Regions from separate parts of the Homo sapiens genome. Here region 1 is linked to region 2. Evidence: promoter capture Hi-C in 16 types of primary human blood cells and fetal thymus (Javierre and others, 2016). All regions are on one chromosome and are shown on one strand. Each heading gives the region's core, a stretch centred on a gene start or on the middle of the fragment in contact. The rest is flanking DNA. Distances are from core to core; before and after follow the strand shown. Region 1 holds the start of FUS (FUS RNA binding protein). Region 2 holds the start of XPO6 (exportin 6).

Region 1 (6,759 bases), core at 3,942-6,441, 3.0 Mb after region 2:
CAGGCGCAGTGGCTCATGCCTGTAACTGTAACTCTAGCACTTTGGGAGGCCGAGGCAGGAAGATTGCTTGAGGCCAGGGGTTCAAGACAAAACTGGCCAACAAAATGAGACCTTGTCTTTAAAAAATAAATTCTGGGGCTGGGCGCAGTGGCTCATGCTTGTAACAGCACTTTGGGAGGCCGAGGAGGGGTGGATCACGAGGTCAGGTGTTTGAGACCAGCCTGGCCAACATAGTGAAACCCCGTCTCTACTAAAAAAAAATACAAAAAATTAGCCAGGCGTGGTGGCGGGTGCCTGTAATCCCAGCTACTTGGAGGCTGAGGCAGGAGAATCGCTTGAACCTGGGAGGCAGATATTGCAGTGAGCCGAGATCGCGCCATTGCACTCCAGCCCAGGCAACAGTGCGAGACTCCATCTCAAACAAATATATATAAATATAAATAAATATATATATATATGTAACTTCCTGGCACGATGGCACAGACCTGTAATCCCAGCACTTTGGGAGGCCGAGGCGCGTGGATCAGGAGGTCAGGAATTCAAGACCAGCCTGGCCAAGATGGTGAAACCCTGTTTCTACTAAAAATACAAAAAATTAGCCAGGCGTAATGGTGGGAGCTTGTAATCCCAGATACTCGGGAGGCTGAGGCAGAGAACTGCAAACTCCGGAGGCGGAGGTTGCAGTGAGCTGAGATTGTGCCACTGCACTCCAGCCTGGGTGACAGAGGGAGACTCTGTCTCAAAAAAACAAACAAAAAAATTAAATAAATAAATTAAAACTAACTAACTAAATAAATATCTGGATATCTGAGCTGGGTGCAGTGGCTCATGCCTCTAATCCCAGCACTTGGGAAAGCAAGGCAGGCAGATCATTTGAGGTCAGGAGTTCGAGACCAGCCTGGCCAACATAGGGAAACCTCATCTCTACTAAAAAAATTAGTTGGGTGTGGTGGTGCACATCTGTAATCCCAGGTACTCAGGAGGCTGAGGCAGGAGAATTGCTGGAACCTGGGAAGTAGAGGTTGCAGTCAGCTGAGATTGCAGCACTGCTCTCCAGCCTGGGTGACAGAGTGAGACTCTGTCTCAAAAAAAAATCAATATCTGATATACGTGTTTATTTTTTTATTGAGATGGAGTCTTGCTCTGTCGCCCAGGCTGGAGTGCAATGGCACAATCTCTGCTCACCGCAACCTCTGCCTCCCTGGCTCAAGCAATTCTCCTGCCTCAACCTCCCGAGTAGCTGGGACTACAGATGCGCGCCACCATGCCCGGCCAATTTCTGTATCTCTAGTAGAGATGGGGTTTCACCAGGTCGGTCAGGCTGGTCTCGAACTCCTGACCTCATGATCTGCCCACCTCAGCCTCCCAAAGTGCTGGGATTACAGGTGTGAGCGAACGCATCTGGCCCAATATCTGATATACATGTTAATTGAAACTGGGTGTGGTGGTCACACCTTTAATCACAGCACTTTGGGAGGATTCCCTTGAGCCTAGGAGTTCAAGACCAGCCTGGGCAACATAGCAAGACCCTGTCTCAAAAAAGAAAAATTTAACATTGACTTTCCTGTCAGAGATAGGAAGTAAATAAGACATTTATGGTGAACTTAAAGCACATATGGCAGCTAAAGGTGACAGTGTCTCACTCCAGCTGACCCTTGCCCTATGGAAGTGGGCCTGGAATGGCCCACTATTTTTAGTGTTGGCAACTAGTTAAAAAAATTAAAACATTCGAGGCAGGTGGATCACTTGAGATCAGGAGTTCGAGAACAGCCTGGGCAATATGGTGAAACCCCGTCTCTACTAAAAATAGGAAAATTAGCTGGACATGGTGATGCATGCCTGTAATCTCAGCTACTCGGGAGGCTGCAGCACAAGAATTGCTTGAACCCGGGAGGCAGAGGTTGCAGTGAGCTGAGATCACGTCACTGCACTCCAGCCTGGGTGACAGAGTGAGACTCCATCTCAAAAAAAAAAAAAAAAGAAAGAAAGAAATGGCCATTTGATTTAGTCTTTCAGAGTCACATATTTTTTTTTTTTTGAGGCCGAGTCTCATCTGCCACCATGCCCAGCCCAGAGTCACAGCTGGAGCCTGAACTCTGCCTCAGTGTCTTCCCCACTTGTGCCTTTGTCTTCGCGGTTCTGCCTATTATAGCCTTTCCTCCCTTGCTGCTTGGCAAACTTCTACTTATCCAGTAAGCCTTGGCTTCAGGGTTACCATCTCTCTTTAGTGTTCTGTGGTTGTCCACCTGATGGATGACTTACTCTGCTGGCAGGGTTTCCAGTCTTTGATTCCATGTGATGGCACTTACTACACTCAAGTACACTTTGTGGTCTGTGTGTCTCACCCACATTCACCCACTGGCTGGTCCTGTGGTTTAGGAACTGAGCTTTTTTTTATCCATATCCATCCAGTCGGCCCCATGATTGGAACATACTATGCAGTGCTCAGGCAATGTTTGCTGAAGCGCAGGGGTTAAGAGCAGGCTACCTGGCTTGGGAACCCAGCTTTGCCACTTCCTGTGTAGCTTCAGCATAACTTTCCGTCTTTCTTTTTTTTTAGAGACAGAGTCTTGCTCTACTCTATCATCCAGGCTGCAGTGCAGTGGCGCGATCTCGGCTCACTGCAACCTCTGCCTCCGGGGTTCAAGCAATTCTCCTGCCTCAGCCTCCTGAGTAGCTGGGACTACAGGTGCGCGCCACTATGCCTGGCTAATGTTTGTATTTTTAGTAGAGACGGGGTTTCACCATGTTGGTCAGGCTGGTCTCGAACTCCTGACGTTGTGATCTGCCCTCCTTGGCCTCCCAAAGTGCTGGGATTACAGGCGTGAGCCACCGTGCCCGGTCAACTGCCTGTCTTTCTATGCTTATTTCCTCATCTGTAAAATGTCATCCTTAGCAGGGCGTGGTGGCTCACACCTGTAATTCCAGCAATTTGGGAGGCCAAGGCAGATGGATCATCTGAGGCCAGGAGTTCGAGACCAGCCTGGCCAACATGGTGAAACCCCGTCTCTACTAAGAATACAAACATTAGCTGGGTGTGGTGGCGCACACCTGTACTCCCAGCTACTTGGGAGGTTGAAGTTGTAGAATCACTTGAACGCGGGAGGCACATGTTGCAGTGAGCCGAGACGGCGCCCCTGCACTCCAGCCTGGGTGACAGAGTGAGACAGTGTCCCCCCAAAAAAAAAAAAGATAAAATGTCATCCTCACATCAGCCTTTTGTTGTGAAAAATAAAATCAAGAGTTTACTCAGTCAGAACAGGGCCTGACAGTAAGTCTTGTTAAAGTGTTAGCTATTACATATTATAGATGAGCACAATGTATATCATTATTAAATGTCAGCTTTATTATTATTATTTGTTTTGAGACAGTCTTGCTCTGTTGCCCAGGCTGGAGTGCAGTGGCACGTCTTGGCTCACTGCAACTTCCGCCTCCTGGGTTCAAGCGATTCTCCCATCTCAGCTTCCTGAGTAGCTGGGATTACAGATGCGCGGACGACGCCTGGCTAATTTTTGTATTTTTAGTAGAGACGGGGTTTCACCATGTTGGCCAGGCTGGTCTCGAACTCCTGACCTCGTGATCCACACGCCTCGGCCTCCCAAAGTGCTGGTATTACAGGCGTGAGCCACCGCACCCGGTCAGCTTTATTATTAAATGTTAACTTCATCTGCTTTGTACACGAATGCATACCCAGTGCCCAGAACAGTGCCTGGAACATACTAGGTGCTAAATAAATATTTGTGACTTAATGCATGAATAAGGGTGGACTTCCTTTCTTTTGCTCTCACTGGAGAGTTGAACTCTCCTTCCAAAGGCGGTGGGGTGGATATTGGCATATTCAGGGCCTTTAGGGCTGAAGTCAAGGGCTTAGTGGGGCTTAATTTGTGGGCGGGCCCAGGGCATGGCCCTCATTGTTTCTCTAGAAAGACGTGTCCAACCCTCAAAGGACCTTCTGAAATCCCGCTGAAAGGTTAAGTTGGGAAGGAAAACCTGCATGCCTATGTATCAGGAATTAACGTCTTTTGTCTTGTTTTATTCAGTAGTTTCAAATTGCCTTCTCCAGGCAAGGCTGATGAAAGTGCAAGTTGCAAGTTAATTTGAATGTTTCTTTTTGCTTTTGCTCTCACAGGAAGTGAAAAGGCGACCAAACACTCTAGCATTCATGCCACCAAAAAGAGGAGTGTTTTGCAGTTACAAGACCTGGATTCGAATCACGACTCCTCTTAGCTGCCCTGTAATCAGGCACAATTACTTGGGTCTCTGAGTCTCACTTTCCTTATCTAGAAAACGGAGGTATCTTTACTTCCTTCGTAAGACTGATGACAAGGAAATTATCTGTGCATTTTGAAACCACTTAAGCCTTGTACACGTTTTATTTCTGGGATCGCCCTGGTAGGGCTTCAGAAAAATAAAAAGGAGGTCCCTGAGAAAAGGCTGGGTACCGTACATCTGAGGTCAACCCTCTCTGGTCCCAAGGATGGCCTGGGCTGTTCCGCCCCGTGGCTCCCCAGGGGCAAAGCCATGAGGATCCGGGTGAGAGCCCAGTGCTGGACGAGCCCGGGGCCCAGGGGTCCCGGCCGAAATCCCTGCTGTCTTTCAGGTCAAACGTCATAATCCCCGAACCCCAGAAAGGCCGAAAGGCAAGGCAACCCTGAAAGACGACGAAGTCAACCTCAGGGCGCAGGAGAGGGAGGGCCAGTGTGCTGCCGACGAGGGAGGCTGGAGCCGCGGGGACGAGGCGCCCCATACAGCGGCAAGAGGGTGGAGGGCAGGAGCTCGCCATCCTGGGTGAAAGCGGGGCCCAGCGAAGGGGCCCGGCCACAGGAATCTCGGTTCCACCCCGCTACTCCCGGCTGTGACTCCAGTTTCGTCCCCAGCCGCCGGGACCGCCCCCTCGCCCCGCCCCCAGCGGGCACTCAGGCCGTACCACTGTGCCTTCATGGGGGTGGAGATAGATCGTGGGCTAGTCCTGCCGAGGAGAGAGGGGTTCTTCCTCAAAAAATATGATTATGTATAGTATTCGCATGATTCTAGTTAACTTGTTTCCCTTCTGCCTGCTCGGACCCTCTACCTGCCCTACGAAGGGGGCGGAGTGCGTTCCTGCCTCCCCCTGCTCTTCCGCGTTTGGTGCGCGCCTGCGCGGTGCGTAGGCGGCGGAGCGTACTTAAGCTTCGACGCAGGAGGCGGGGCTGCTCAGTCCTCCAGGCGTCGGTACTCAGCGGTGTTGGAACTTCGTTGCTTGCTTGCCTGTGCGCGCGTGCGCGGACATGGCCTCAAACGGTAGGTAAGGGCGCGAGGCGACGGCGGCGGCGCACCCGGCCGAGGCCTCCCAGCTGGGCTTTTCGTTTTCAGTGGGACCGGGGCGGCGATCCCGTGTGGGATTTTTTGGCGCCCCTGTGGCGGGAAGCCGCGGAGAAGAGTAACTGGAGGAGGCTGGTGTCGCCATTTTGTTTCGCTCCTCTGGCCCTCGCGCGCGGGGCGGGAAGTCTTTTCTTTGCAGTCCGTTTGCTTGGGGTGGGCGTTGGGAGGGACGCTTCTTAGGGGTTTGAAGCGTCAGGTGAGGGTGGAAAACGCCCATTCTCCGTGGCCTCGCCTCCCCCAACTCCCGGCCCCGCGCTCGAGCCCGCTTTGTCGCAGTGCTGCATCCGGGCACTCGCGGCGCGCACGCGCTCTGCGGGCCCCTCCCCCTTCGCGGCGCGGGTACCCCTTCCCCGCCTCGTGTTGGTTCAGCTTTCTGTCGCGAGACCCTTCGCGGAAGACTCGGCGGCGCGCGTCCGGTGTGAGCCTTGTCCCTCAGTGGTCCTTCGCGAATGGGCGGGATCGCTCCGTTCCCGCCTGGGTTGCCACGCGGCTGGGGGCGGAGGCTCGGGATCGGGGCCGCCCTCTAGCTTAACGGTTTGGCGGCGGTGGTCAGGGTTCGACCAACGGACTTGGGGACGGCCCGAGAGTTTTTCCCGCCTAAATTTCTTTCTTTTTTTTTTTGGAGACACGGTCTTCCTCTGTCGCCCAGGCTGGAGTGCAGTGGTGCGATCTCAGATCACTGCAACGTCCACCTCCTGGGTTCAAGTGATTCTTCTGCCTCAGCCTCCTGAGTAGTTGGGATTATAGGCGCCCGCCACCACAGCCCGGCTAATTTTTGTGTTTCTTAGTAGGGGCGGGGTTTCACCATGTTGGTCAGGCTGGTCTCGAACTGCTGACCTCAGGTGATCCGCCCGCCTGGGCCTCCCGAAGTGTCGGGATTACAGACGTAAGCCAACCACGCCTGGTCTAAATTTCTTTTTTCTGAGATAGGGACGGAGAAGAACGGCCGCCCGAGGCCACACCCTCTCCTGGTCCTCTTTCCCTTTTCCTGCGGGGGAAGCGCCGCGTTTCCTGTGCTGGGAGGATGAGTTGATCTTGTTCGTGTATCTTAAGTGGGGCTTTTCAAAAGCGCTTTTGTTGCTTTTTGTTCGCTGGGGGAAGGCAGGGTAGGTGAGAAAACGGAACCATCTGGAGTCCCAGGGCTGGGGACTCGAGTACCTGTTGACTTTCGCCTCCTAAGGCGAGCAGTTGCATGATCTCTGTCATTTGGGGTCCAAGGGCTCTTTTGATTCTCTGGCTTTGCACTAAAAAGCCCACTTCATCTCCGGGATTGGTCAAAGAGTGAAGAATGGCCTTTTTTGAGACTTTCTTATTCTGTGGGTCTGGGCTGAGAGAGCAGAGGCCACAATCTGAACACTGTTCGAATTCAAACCTGTGCCACTTTGGTAGTTCTGCGAC
Region 2 (7,169 bases), core at 1,599-4,098:
AGCTACCTAAAGTAGTCAAATTCATAGAAATAGAAACTAAAGTAGGGCAGGGGAGAGACTGAAAAAAGACGGGTACAGGTTGTTTTGGGAAAAAACCTTTGGAGATATATGGTGGTGATCGTTGCACAACAATGTGAATGTTCTTAATTTCACTAAACTGTACACTTAAAAATGGTTAAAATGGCTAATTTTAATTATGTATATTTTACTACAATTAAAAAACAAAACTTAAGTATATTGAGGCCGGGCGCGATGGCTCATGCATGTAATCTCAGCACTTTGGGAGGCCGAGGCGGGTGGATCACCTGAGGTCAGGAATTCAAGACCAGCCTGACCAACATGGTGAAACCCCATCTCTACTAAAAATACAAAATTTAGCCGGGCATGGTGGCGCATGCCTATAATCCCAGCTACTCGGGAGGCTGAGGCAGGAGAATCACTTGAACCCGGGAGGCAGAAGTTGCCGTGAGCTGAGACTGCACCACTGCACTCCAGCCTGGGCAACAACAGCTGAACTCCATCTCAAAAAAAAAAAAAAAAAAAGCATTACTGAAAGAATAAATGAAGGAAGGAATGAGTGCTACTTTCATTAGCCACTAAATGTTATACCTCATACCTCTAGATTACTCTTTAGAGAAATCCTATCCCCAAATTTCATAGTTGAGGAAATTGGAACTGAGAGCTTAACTGATTTGCCACAATTCATACTGTGTAATATATATGTTAAAATACATAGACTCAGCTGTGCACGGTGGCTCACGCCTGTAATCCCAGCACTTTGGGAGGCTGAGGAGGACGGATCACTTGAGCTCAGGTTCAAGACCAGCCTGGGGAACGTGGTGAGACCTCATCTCCACAAAAAATTAGCCAGGCATGGTGGCACTTGCCTGCAGCCCCAGCTACTTGGGAGGCTAAGGTGGGAGGACTGCTTGAGCCCAGGAGGTCGAGGCTGCAGTGAGCCATGAACGTGCCACTGCACTCCAGCCTAGGAAACAAAGCAAGACCCTGTCTCAAAACAAATAAAAATAAAACACATACACTATACGTATAGCATATACTGTACGGTGCTGCTCAGCATTAATGGTGTACTTTACCCAGCTGGTTGTAAGCTCCATATCTCAGGACCTACACACTACCCACAGGCCCCTTGAATGTTTCGAAAATTCCACAGGCCTTAAGGTCTGTATCACAAAAGATGCAGCTATGTCCCTTTCTCTATTATACCACTAACTTGGCAGGGGTAAAATGGGTGAAACTGAGGAGAACAGCTCCACTCCTCGAGGTGCTCAACCACAGGCTAGGTGATCCAGTACTTACCAAGGGCTTACTATGTGCCAGGAGCTGGAGCAGATAAGGGTTCAAACAATTTGGTCTTTGAAGGAGCTGTGTATACCGCAATAGACAGATAAGGCTCAGAAATAATTACAAGAGCAAAAAGGCAAATGCTTAACAAAGAGATGTGGGTACACACATTTAGGGGAGTATTGAAAGTATCGGTCTAGAAAACGTGGAGATGTGGATACACAAAGAGATGTGAGTACACACATTTAGGGGAGTATTGAAAGTATCGGTCTAGAAAACGTGGAAGGTAGCTTCAGCAGAGATCAGAGCATGTAGAATAGCAGCCTCAGTGTCAAAAGATCACGACCATTCCTGACTTTGCCATCACCTGTGCAAGTGACCTCTGTAAATCGCTCTGTTTCCTCATATATAAACCTACAGCTAGATGAGATGTTTCTCCTACAATCACCCAGCTCTCTAAGTGTATTAGAGATGCCTAGGTTCAAAGTCAGATGCCTAGGTTCAAATCTTAACACTGTTAAAAAGTCGCTTGACCTTGAGCTGGGGAATTAATTGCTCCGTGCCTCAGTCTCCCCACTTCCGAACAGAGGGCTGGTGTGATCATTAAATACTACTGCACTGTCAATCACTTCGCGCAGGGCCTTGGCAAGTAGTAAGCCCTCAATAAACGATAGTTATTATCCGGAGGAGCTGCAGGAGGCAAACACCAGATGCAAGGGTTGTGCCTGCTGCGCTCCCAGGGCCCTCCCAGGCCTGAGCCATCATCCCTGGGGGGATGGGAGCGCAGGGCCGGGGCTGCACACTCTGCACGCATGTGTCACCGGCCAGGCTCCGCACGCGCCTCTCCCCGCCATGGGGAGAGCAGCGATGGCTCAGCAGCCCCGGGGCCCATTCCCACCCTTCCGGTAGGGCACCCCAGGAGGGAAGGGGGCTCCAATTCCACTTACCATGCTGGCCGGGGAGGGGGCGGCTCAGATGAGCTGGTTCTTGGGCTTCGGACACGTCCCGCTCGCACAGTTCAGGTCATGGTCCCGGCAGACTCGGGAAGTCCCCCACCCATGCAAAGACAACCCCTTCCCCACCGGGCCCCGAGGGGACCCTCTAAAAAGGGCAGGGCCGCCCGGGTCGCCTCATCGGGGGACCCCGAGACAATTCATCCAGACCCACCCGCCCCTCCCCAAGGAAACTGAAAAAGCAGGAAATGAGGCTCGGATGCCGGCGAGGAGGGCAGCTGCTCGGGACCCCCGCCCGGGCCCGACCCCCGCGGGGGAGGCTGCGGGCCCAGGCAGGGGCTCCCCGGCCTCCGCGGGCAGAGGTGGCGGCGGCCCCGGCCCCGAGGCTGAACGGGCGGAGGCTGACAGGCCTCGACCGCGCGGCCCAGGCGGCCGGCTCAGGGGAGAGGCCCGGGGGCCCGCGCTGTCCTCGCAGCCTCAACCCACACGGCCACTGCCGCCGCCCCCTAGAGCATCCTTGCGCGCGCCCGCCCTGGAGCCGCCCGCTAGTACCGCGCGGCCGCCCCCGACCAACAGCCCCAACGCGCCGGAAGTGGCGAGCGCCGGGCGGCCCCACAGCGCGGCCGCCGGGCTGCGGCGCTGGAACCGGACCAATCCGGAATCGAGCGGGGCGAGCGGGGGGAGCGGGCGGAGGGCGGAGGGCGGGGCTGCACCTGACGGCTCCCACTGGCCCCGCCTTCTTACCACGCCCTCTCTTGCCCCGCCCCCTGCGCCCACCGCCCGTGCGTCCACGCGGGCCGGCAGCCATCTTGGTAAAGGGAGCCCGGGCTGCCATTTTAGTAAAGGCGTGGTTTCCCTTTCGCTTTTTTCGCCCATTCATTCCGCTAAAATTTTAGTGAGTGCCTTTTACGGGCGGAGCATCGAGCTGGCAGCGTGACGACACGCGGCCCTATGGAGCTTACATTCATGCAGTCCACACACTCTTGCCCGACTATATTCCAGGCCCTGCTGTGGATGCTAGGACAGGGGAGATAAACGTAACTTCGATAGCCAAGGTGCTGAGAGAGGCAGAGAATGTGTTGGATTCCTGTTCCCATCCTCCAATCCACTTTACTCGTGAAAGTGCTCATCTTTATTTTGTTTTATTTTTGGGGACAGGTTCTTGCTCTGTTGCCCAGGCTGGAGTGCGGTAACACAATCATGGCTCACTGCAGCCTCAACCTCCTGGTGCGCCACCATGCCCAGCTAAATTTTTTTATTTTTTGCAGAGGTGAGGCCTCCTTTTGATGCTTGGGCTGGTCTGGAACTCCTGGGCTCAAGCAGCTTTCCTGCCTCAGCCTTCCAAAGTGCTGGGATTACAGGTATGAGTCATCCAGCCAGGCTGAAAGTGCTAATTTTAAGAAACAGTCAGGAAACTATCCCAAACAGCTGAGGTTGAGCCCGCGGGTGTGCCTACTACATAGATTGGAGCAAATCTATGTAACCCAATGGCCCTTGTCAACCTTAAATAACGAGATTGAGAAAATAGTATTTAAGTATAGGGTTTATTCAAGCCCGAAGCTTGAAGATGGCCCACCAGAAGTATAGTCCAATTAGTGGCAGTTACAAATGGGGTTTCCTTGTTTGTTTGTTTGTTTTTAAGACAGGGTCTTGCTCTGTCGCCCAGACTAGAGTGTAGTTTGTTGTTGTTGTTGTTTGAGACGGAGTCTCGCTTTGTCGCCCAGGCTGGAGTGCAATGGTGCAATCTCAGCTCACTGCAACTTCCGCCTCCCGGGTTCAAACGATTATCCTGCCTCAGCCTCTCGAGTAGCTGGGACTACAGGCACCCACCATGATGCCCGGCTATTTTTTTTATTTTTAGTAGAAACGGAGTTTCACCATAGTGGCCAGGCTGGTCTTGAACTCCCGACCTCAGGTGATCCGCCAGCCTCGGCCTCCCAAAGTGCTGGGATTACAGGCGTGAGCCCTCCCGCCTGGCTTCAAGTGGGTTTCTAAGGAAAAAAGAGGCATAACATAAGGTTGAATAGGAATGATGAGAAAGGGGGAAAAAATAACATAAGCTATTGCCTATACATTGTTCTTTGTATCACAAATTTCAGGAACCTGAAGGAAATGGGGGAGGCAGCTAGTCTGGAACAAAATATCTTTAAACAATTGTCCCCGAGCATGTGGAGGTGGGAGTGTGCCCGAACTCCCATACACAAGTCTCAGTGGACCTGACAAATTTTGCATACTTCACATAACTCAGACTTCCCTGAGCTATTTTTCTTTCCTGTCAAACCTCAGTGTGATCTGAATCAATTCACCCAGAAGGACTGTTAAAACAAAGATTACTCGCTCCACTCATAGACTTTCCCATCCAGTAGGTTTGAGATGGGGCTGAATAATTTGCATTTCTAACAAGCTCCCAAATGAAGCTGATGCTGCAGGTCTAGATACCACATTTGGAGAACCACTGATACAACACTTTACCACTGAAAGCAATAGCTTTCAGGGGTTTTTTAGTTTTTTGTTTGTTTGTTTGTTTGTTTGTTTTTGGAGAAAGGGTCTCACTCTGTTGCAGTGACATGATCATGGCTCACTGCAGCCTCAAACTCCCAGCCTCAAGCACTTTTTTTTTTTTTTTAATGAGACAGAGTTTCGGTCTTGTTGCCCAGGCTGGAGTGCAATGGCATGATCTCGGCTCACCGCAACGTCCGCCTCCTGGGTTCAAGCAATTCTCCTGCCTCAGCCTCCCAAGTAGCTGGGATTACAGGAGCCCACCACCGCACCCAACTAATTTTTTGTATTTTCAGTAGAGACGGGGTTTCACCATGTTGGTCAGGCTGGTCTCAAACTCCCGACCTCAGGTGATCCACCCGCCTCGTCCTCCCAAAGTGCTGAGATTACAGGCATGAGCCACCGCGCCAGGCCATCAAGCACTATTTTTTTTTCTCTTGAGAGGGAGTTTCGCTCTTGTTGCCCAGGCTGGAGTACAATGGTGCAATCTCGGCTCACTGCAACCTCTGCCTCCCAGGTTCAAGCAATTCTCCTGCCTCAGCCTCCCAAGTAGCTGGGATTACAGGCACCTGCCACCACACCCAGCTAAATTTATTTTTGTATTTTTAGTAGAGACGGGGTTTCGCCATGTTGGCCAGGATGGTCTCACCTCCTGACCTCAAGTGATGCGCCCACCTCGACCTCCCAAAGTTCTGGGATTACAGGCATGAGCCACCATGCCCAGCCTCAAGCACATTTATTTTATCAAATCTTTATTGTTGTCCACTAAGTGACAGTCACTATTTCAAGGATTCAATGCTGAGCAAAACAAATATATGTGTGCCCTTATGGAATTTAAAGACAAATTATTTGTAAAATATTGTACAATAATGGATCAGTTATTGTGATAAGAGCAATGAAGGAAAAATTGAAACTAACATGATATAACTTTAATATAGTTTACACGCTAATAAGGCCAAGGGATCTAAAATAATCTGGCAGATTAGGATGGGGAGGAAGTCAGGAAGTGACATTTCTTTAAGCTTTGGCCTTAAAGAAGCAGGAGTTTGCTAGGCAAAGAGAGGGGGCATAGAACATTCCAGGCAGTAGAAACAGCATGTACAAGAGAAGCCATCTCAGTAGGTAAGCTGATGAATCGGAATGGAGGCCAAGTCACTTACTTGGCTTAGTTTAGTAGGATGAGTGAAAGCTTTGGGTTGAGACTCATTTGGAGTGGAATCCAGCTCTTAACTTCACTAGCTAAGGTATCTTGAGTTATTGACTCTCGAAGTCTTGGTTTCCTTACTGTAAAATTGAATGAGATAACAGAAATGCAACTGACTCACTTAAGGGTATGCCTTTGGGTTACATAACTGGACTTCCAGAGATTCATTAGCTTTTGGCTGGGTGTGATGGGAGGCCTAGATCCATTCCTCTAGGATTTTCTTTTTTTTCTGTGTGTGGTTTTGTGTGTGTTTGTTTGTTTGTTTGTTTGTTTTGTTTTGTTTTATTTTTTTGAGACAGGGTCTCAGTCTGTTCTCCATGCTAGAGTGCAGTGGCGCAATCACAGCTCACTGCAGTCTCGACCTCCCAAGCTCAAGCAAGCCTCTCACCTTAAACTCCCAGTTAGCTGGGACTACAGGTGTGCGCCACTATGCCCAGCTGATTTTTTTTTTTTCAGCAAAGACAATGTCTCACTGTGTTGCCCAGGCTAGTCTCCAACTTCTGAGCTCAAGTGATCTGCCCACCCCGGCCTCCCAAAGTGCTGGGATTACAGGCATGAGCCACCACGCCCGGCCATTCCTCTAGGACTTCCTTGCTCTGCTCTTCTCCATTATCAGACTTGTTGTCAAGGTGGTTGCCAGGAACAGCCAGGGCCACAAAATTCCCTGTTCAAATCCAGCAAAAGAGAGCACCTTTTGGCCGGGCACAGTGGCTCACACCTGTAATCCCCAACACTTTGGGAGGCCAAGGTGGATGGATCGCTTGAGGTCAGCAGTTTGAGACCAGCCTGGCCAACTGGTGAAACCCCATCTCTACTTAAAAATACAAAAATGAGGCTGGGCATGGTGGCTCATGCCTGTAATCCCAGCACTTTGGGAGGCCGAGGTGGGTGGATCACCTAAGGTCGAGAGTTTGAGACCAGCCTAGCCAATATGGAGAAACCCCGTCTCTACTAAAAATACAAAAAATTAGCCAGGTGTGGTGGCGCATACCTGTAATCCTAGCTACTTGGGAAGCTGAGGCAGGAGAATCGCTTGAACCCGGGAGGCGGATGTTGTGGTGAGCCGAGATTGCACCATTGCACTCCAGCCTGGGCAACCAGAGCAAAACTCCATCTCAAAAAAAAAAAAAAAAAAAATTAGCTGGGCATGGTGGCAGGCGCCTGTAGTCCCAGCTACTCAGGAGGCTGAGGCAGGAGAATTGCTTGAACCC

What was found. The method cuts DNA at HindIII sites, captures the fragments that hold promoters and counts their contacts. A CHiCAGO score of 5 or more calls a contact.
Region 1: the fragment with the promoter of FUS here is called in contact with the fragment with the promoter of XPO6 in region 2 in 1 of 17 cell types (fetal thymus); the score reaches 9.3 in fetal thymus.

What each region holds. Positions count from the first base shown.
Region 1 is chr16:31,174,948-31,181,706 of GRCh38, forward strand. FUS (FUS RNA binding protein) reads left to right here and starts at 5,192. Exons shown (of 15, transcript NM_004960.4): 1 at 5,192-5,280. The coding sequence starts at 5,268. RefSeq lists enhancers at 4,078-4,137, 4,429-5,189, 4,648-4,717, 5,190-5,951, 5,952-6,712 and 4 more and silencers at 4,878-4,947, 5,588-5,737, 5,858-5,907. The HindIII fragment of the contact is 6,651 bases long and covers 5,168-6,759 here.
Region 2 is chr16:28,209,117-28,216,285 of GRCh38, forward strand. It overlaps XPO6 (exportin 6), which reads right to left and starts at 2,849. Exons shown (of 24, transcript NM_015171.4): 1 at 2,250-2,849. The coding sequence starts at 2,252. RefSeq lists silencers at 1-86, 2,597-3,086 and an enhancer at 1,969-2,967. The HindIII fragment of the contact is 3,886 bases long and covers 1-3,813 here.